Regions from separate parts of the Homo sapiens genome. Here region 2 is linked to region 1. Evidence: promoter capture Hi-C in 16 types of primary human blood cells and fetal thymus (Javierre and others, 2016). All regions are on one chromosome and are shown on one strand. Each heading gives the region's core, a stretch centred on a gene start or on the middle of the fragment in contact. The rest is flanking DNA. Distances are from core to core; before and after follow the strand shown.

Region 1 (3,101 bases), core at 1-2,500:
GTATTAACTGCTGTGAAAGTCATCCCCAATGCGCTCTCAATTGAGCGCATTGAATGAGGCTTTCCAAATTGAAGTGCAAGTTGCTGTAGAAATCCCAATGCATTCTTCTTTGAGATTAAAGCCCCAGAAAGAGCTGCATTTAGAATACACACACACACACACCCCTTTTCCCAGGGTTTTCTTGAACTACATTTGGAGAAAATGCTGCCCCACACAGACACACTTGCATTATCGCCATCCCCACCATTTCAGGTTCGGCTGCCCCGGAAGAGTCTGGTTAAAAAGAAAAGAGAGGAAGCGGGGGCTGTATGTTACGTTCGCGGTTTTGTCCCCCCAAAGTTTCAAGTACACATTACGCTCTGGCAGTCAGGACTTCCAGAGACGTACAGAGAAAGAAAGAAAGAAAAGGCGCGGGGAGCGGGCTGGAGGATTCTGCAAGCACAGGCCCCTATGGAGCGCCCGTTCGGGGGACGGGATTTCCCTCCCTTTCCCCTCCCCCGCCCGTTCGGAATTCCGCCCCCGCCGCGGGCCCGGAACAATGCAGCCGCCCGTCCCGGGGACCAGCCACTTACCACCCAGGTCAGTGCCCCGTTGCCGCCGCCCACGCCGGCTCCCGCGCCGCAGCCACCCGACTTGGCCATGGCGAGTGCCTCCAGCTCACAGGCCCTGAGGCCGCAGCCGCCGCTCCCGCCTCCCTGCGGGCCGCTGGGCCCCGCCGCTCCGCACCCACCGCTCCACTCGCCGCACTCCTAGCCGCGCCGACCCCCGCGCCCCATCGCGAAGATCCGGAGCGGACGTCCAGCCGAGCCCGCTGAGGAGGCCGCGCCGCCGGCTGCCCTCAAACTCGAGGCGCGGCGTCCGCGTCGCCCGGGCCTAGCGCGGCGGCTGAGGAGAAAGCAGGGAGCGACCGGCGGCGGCCGAGCGGCGGCGTTGCCTTCTCGCCCGCCCGCGGGCGCCGCTGCAGGCCGGGCTGAAGCCCGGGCGTGCGAGCCGCGAGGGCGGCCGGGGAGCCCGAGGCGCTCGGACGTGGCGAGGACGCAGAGGTGCCTTGTCCTTCTCACACTCCGCGAAGGCCAGCCACTCGAGTCGCCAGAGTAGTCGTCCCGGTCGCCGCCGCTGCTTCAAAGGCAGCCTTAGCCTCGCTGCAGCCCCGATTTCCTCACACACACACACCGAGAGGGACAATAAACAGAGCCGCCGCCGCCGCCGCCACGGTCACCTCCCTCTTGTCCGGCATAACACCGCACACACACATTTGCACACCGGGGAGAGAGGGAGGGCGCGGCGGCCGCCCCCGCTGTCAGTCAGCGCCATGCTGTCCAATCCGGGCCTTGTCGCCACAGCCTCTCGGCCAATCCCAAAATTCCAAGCCCCCTGGAGGGGCGGGACCCGAGGGGGGAAACGTCATTGCGGGTAGCAACCGAAAGGAAGACTTGGGGTTTTTGTTTGTGTGTGTGTCTGTGGGTTTTCCATTTGAAGGGAGAGCAGGGGCTGCTTCAAGGGTCAATTGAGGGCGGCAAAGGGAAAGGGTCGAATTGGCCTCGGGTCGATTGTAATCCTCCAAGCGTGCTGTTTACTCTGAGACCTAACCGGGAATCCGAAGCGTTTGCCTGGGGCCTCTAAGGATGAGGATGGGGGCGGGGTGGGGATGGGGGTGGCAGGAAGAAGCCGGGGGCCGTCCCAAAGGGAAATTATTTTAAAAGAGCGGTTGTAAACCGCAGGCAAGACGTTGTAGACCACTGGTGCAAGGAGGCCCCGTGACCCGGCCTCCCCAAGGGCCTAAGTGGACGCTGCTGTCGAAAAAAATCATCTCAGACCTTCTCCATCTCCTTCTTCCGTCTCCTCCCCTCACCCCAAAAGAGCATATGGTCAGTTTCAAGAAAACTACATATGAAAAGCTTAAATGATAAGGGACACACAGAGAATGTTCTAGGGAAAGAATGCAGGGTGGGTTGAGTGTTCTATTTCTACTCTTTGTTGACCTTTCTTCTCTGAACAATGCAGAGATGTCACTGTCACTTTTCTCATCTGTCCAGAACTGTGCCCCCTGCCTCTAAGAGGGCATGCTTAATTTTTAAAACTGTTTTCAGTGGAATTTTCAAATGCACAGTAAGGAATAATTTCATTCACATTAAAGCTTTCTAAGAATGAAAATTACCAATACAGCAACATCACAGTCTTTGGCAGATGGAAGATGGCTTTACTTCTTCCTGTTTTTCAGTGTAATTCCACTCAAGTATTTATTGGGCGCACACTCTGCCACGCTGTGCCAGGCTCTGCGATGGGTTCAAAGTAAAAACAAGGCCCCTGATTTCAAACCATTTATAACCTGGCTTGTGAGACAGACTAAAAGGGAGCCAACGATCACCAAAATGAGTACTTGAAGGCATGAAGTGCCACCAAAGAGTTGTGATGAAAGCTTTTTATAAAGATGAAAACAGTATTACTGTTTTTTGAAGAGGTGTTTTTGTGAACTTCCAACTGTGCATTTCCTCTCAAGGGAAAACAAAAATGTCTCAGGTCACATCTTTAAACTGCATTCTGAGTCTAGAGGTGGAGAACTCTGAAACATGGAAATAATTTAAACATAGTTTTTTTAATTAGCTCTCTGATGGCCATGTAACTTTGCCATACTAGGGACTTCAGAACAGTGAAGCCTTTCTTTACCTTGAACTTGGGGTGCAAACTTTTCTGAACCTGACCAAGTATCCATAGCCTTGTTATTTAACTTCCCTGAGCCTCAGTTTAGTGCTTGTTAAAATGATCTTGTGTTCTTACTGTGAGTTTGCATCTCCAAGTACACATGTATTTTGTTTGAAAAGGGGTAATTTTAAAGGCAATGAGTTTTTTTTATGAAGATGTACTAGGTAGAAGCTAAGCTATAAAATACATAGCTGTCTCCTTTTTTAAACTTAAGTTGTCAAAGCTCTTTATCTTCCGTTTTTGTTGTTGTTTTTAGAGACAGAGTCTTGCTCTGTCACCCAGGCTGGAGTACAGTGGCATGATCTCGGCTCACTGCACCCTCCACCTCCCAGGTTCAAGCAATTCTCCTGCCTCAGCCTCCCAGGTAGCTGGGATTACAGGCACCGGCCACCATGCCT
Region 2 (3,101 bases), core at 367-2,866, 5.6 Mb before region 1:
AGAATCTGCCATTTCATCCCCTCAAGACTGGACTCAAGTTGGGAGAGAATATTGCCTTTTGCCCTGTCTAAGCTAATATCACTGTTTAGATCTACAAACTCCCCCACCTCCCAATGTTTATATATTAACCTGCATTACAAGTCAAAATAACACAGAGAATCTGGAAAAAGAAGAAGGGGAATGTTTCCCACGAAAAGCACACCCCTTAAAGCGTCTGGCCTGAGAGCTATACAGCATGCATAAAATCTGATAATAAGCACATTATGACCCACATTGCATATAACAAAAAGTAGGGCACTTCTGAAGGGTCCTGAGAAAAAGCCCTGGGCTTTTAAAACCTGCTTAAGAAGGCGATCAACGGTACACCACTTTCAAACGCAGCACTGACTTGTATGCTCCACAGTCATCAACAGTGAAAACAACAGTTTTCAACAAGAGTTGGAAACACTGAGTTGAGGGTTTTTTTTTTCTTTTTAAAGTTTGAGGCCAAAATCGATATTTATTCTTTTGAATTATGCTTATATCTTTTTCCTGGTTAATACGCACGCGGTGGCACAATTTTGAAAACTACGTAACGTTATAGAACCACCACCCAGAAACGAATCCTGTTAACAAACTTTTTGTATTCAAACTTTTTCCACTGCATAGTTTTTGACAATGCTTTTTAGACAATCTTTCTTTTAGCAACCAGCACTTTCAAACAAAAATTACAGAGAATAGTAAGTTTTTTTCCCCTCCTCCGGCAGATTTGACCCAGAAATTGCTATGGGAAGAAAGTGTTAATTATATTAAAAAATAGTTTGACAGAAAGTATTTAAAAAGAGAAAGGGAGAACATCACGTCTTTATTTTGGTGAATTAGCAACAAAGAAAAAGATTAGCATGGACGGGTACTTTTCAAAAATATATTTTTTTTCCTCTGGCTCCCGCTAGGGTGGAGGAAGTTGTCTCTCTGTCAGAGACAGGGTGGAAGAGAGTGAAAGGACAAATGATTGAGAGGCTGCCCCCTCCCACTGGTGCAGGCGTGCGGGGGTCGGATGGGGGGCCGCGGAGGGGGGAGGTGGCCAGCAGGTGCCTGGGCTCCAGGCCCCTACCCCCACCCTCGTCCCCACCCTCACCCACACCCAGGGATTGGCCTCGCCCCCTGGCGGGCGAGCGGTAGGTGTCGAAGCACTGGGGTGGGGGGTGCAAACCCCGCGGGCAGCGGAAAAGAGGCCGTGGGGGGCCTCCCAGCGCTGGCAGACACCGTGAGGCTGGCAGCCGCCGGCACGCACACCTAGTCCGCAGTCCCGAGGAACATGTCCGCAGCCAGGGCGCGGAGCAGAGTCCCGGGCAGGAGAACCAAGGGAGGGCGTGTGCTGTGGCGGCGGCGGCAGCGGCAGCGGAGCCGCTAGTCCCCTCCCTCCTGGGGGAGCAGCTGCCGCCGCTGCCGCCGCCGCCACCACCATCAGCGCGCGGGGCCCGGCCAGAGCGAGCCGGGCGAGCGGCGCGCTAGGGGGAGGGCGGGGGCGGGGAGGGGGGTGGGCGAAGGGGGCGGGAGGGCGTGGGGGGAGGGTCTCGCTCTCCCGACTACCAGAGCCCGAGAGGGAGACCCTGGCGGCGGCGGCGGCGCCTGACACTCGGCGCCTCCTGCCGTGCTCCGGGGCGGCATGTCCGAGGCTGGCGGGGCCGGGCCGGGCGGCTGCGGGGCAGGAGCCGGGGCAGGGGCCGGGCCCGGGGCGCTGCCCCCGCAGCCTGCGGCGCTTCCGCCCGCGCCCCCGCAGGGCTCCCCCTGCGCCGCTGCCGCCGGGGGCTCGGGCGCCTGCGGTCCGGCGACGGCAGTGGCTGCAGCGGGCACGGCCGAAGGACCGGGAGGCGGTGGCTCGGCCCGAATCGCCGTGAAGAAAGCGCAACTACGCTCCGCTCCGCGGGCCAAGAAACTGGAGAAACTCGGAGTGTACTCCGCCTGCAAGGTACGCGCTCGCCGCTCTCGGACCGCGGATGGGTGCTAGGGGCCCAGCCCGCGGGACCCCCCTCCCCCTCCCGCTTCCACCTCCGCCTCCCGCCTCCTGCCTCTCGCCTCCCGCCTGGGGCCGCTGCACCGCGGAAGTGCTCTTGTCGCCCGCGCCCAATTAGCTTCTTCTTGGATAAGAGTCCTGCTGGGTTTGAAGAAGGGGGATCACTAAGACGGAGAGCCCTTCATTCCTTCCGCTTGAAAGGAGTAGCTTCGGCATCCGAGCTCCCGGGCTACCTTGGGGTTTTGTTGCTCTGTAGGAGCTCGCTGGAGTCACTTTCCCGGGAGTGGAGCGGTGCTCTCCATGTGGCGGGTGACCCAGGGGCAAGGAAAAATCTTTTGGGGGACTGAGTGGTCCCTTCTGCAATCGATCCCTTCCTGTGTCCCACTGGGAGGAACTGGGTGCAAGGAGTGGGGGTGGAGAAGACTCCCGGACTCCTGGCGCTTTGGGAAAGCGAAGGGGAGGAAAGCGCGGGGTGGGAAGGTGGGCAGAGTCCGAGGCGAGGGTCTTGTGGTGCCTGGCGCCCTCGGCTGGGGGCGGAGGCACTGCCGCGCGCGGTGACAGCCCTGTCATTATTGTATTATTACTTGTTTAGTTAAAACGCTGTCCCAGCTGCTCGAGGTGTAAACAGGATTTGGCAAAGTGACAGCCCAGCGCGGCGGGCGCTACTGCTCAGTTTGAGGACACCCATTTCTTGCTACCCACTCTCCATGCCAGTTTAGGCACCCTGTCACCTCCAGCTGCAGATCCAGATGTGGAGGCTGTGTTCCCGAGGTGGGAGGATTGCCCGAGGCCGCGGGGCAGGCTGGCCCTGCGCTGTCAGCAGCGGCTTTGTTTTGACAGGGTGACAGCTGAGGGGGGCGGGGACTTGGCCTTGTCAGCTCCTGCGGCCTGTGGCTGAGGCAGGGAAGAGACACACTCACACACACTCACACCTCCCTGTATTCTTCCTGCCTGCTGTAAAGAGGGTCAAGTTCCCAGATTCCAGATTCCCGATTGTCACAACCAAGCTGCAGTGACCACTTCTGAATTTTGACATAACTATAATTTATTCTACTAGAACATCTAGGTTATACTCTTCTTGGTACTTGCAGGAGCTTCTCAGTCA

The links. Contacts are between HindIII fragments. The CHiCAGO score rates a contact against its expected background, and 5 or more counts as called.
Region 2: a contact is called between the fragment with the promoter of KAT2B here and the fragment with the promoter of TOP2B in region 1, in 5 of 17 cell types (total CD8 T cells, naive CD8 T cells, total CD4 T cells and 2 more). The highest score is 13.5, in total CD8 T cells.

Annotation. Positions count from the first base shown.
Region 1 is chr3:25,663,657-25,666,757 of GRCh38, forward strand. It overlaps TOP2B (DNA topoisomerase II beta), which reads right to left and starts at 1,251. Exons shown (of 36, transcript NM_001330700.2): 1 at 573-1,251. The coding sequence starts at 641. MIR4442 (microRNA 4442) reads right to left here and starts at 1,283; the gene lies at 1,217-1,283. RefSeq lists enhancers at 1-30, 988-1,551 and silencers at 318-506, 461-820. The HindIII fragment of the contact is 4,216 bases long and covers 1-1,896 here.
Region 2 is chr3:20,038,830-20,041,930 of GRCh38, forward strand. KAT2B (lysine acetyltransferase 2B) reads left to right here and starts at 1,617. Exons shown (of 18, transcript NM_003884.5): 1 at 1,617-1,951. The coding sequence starts at 1,649. RefSeq lists silencers at 879-1,518, 1,689-1,818, 2,019-2,078 and enhancers at 1,242-2,212, 2,929-3,101. The HindIII fragment of the contact is 5,734 bases long and covers 1-3,101 here.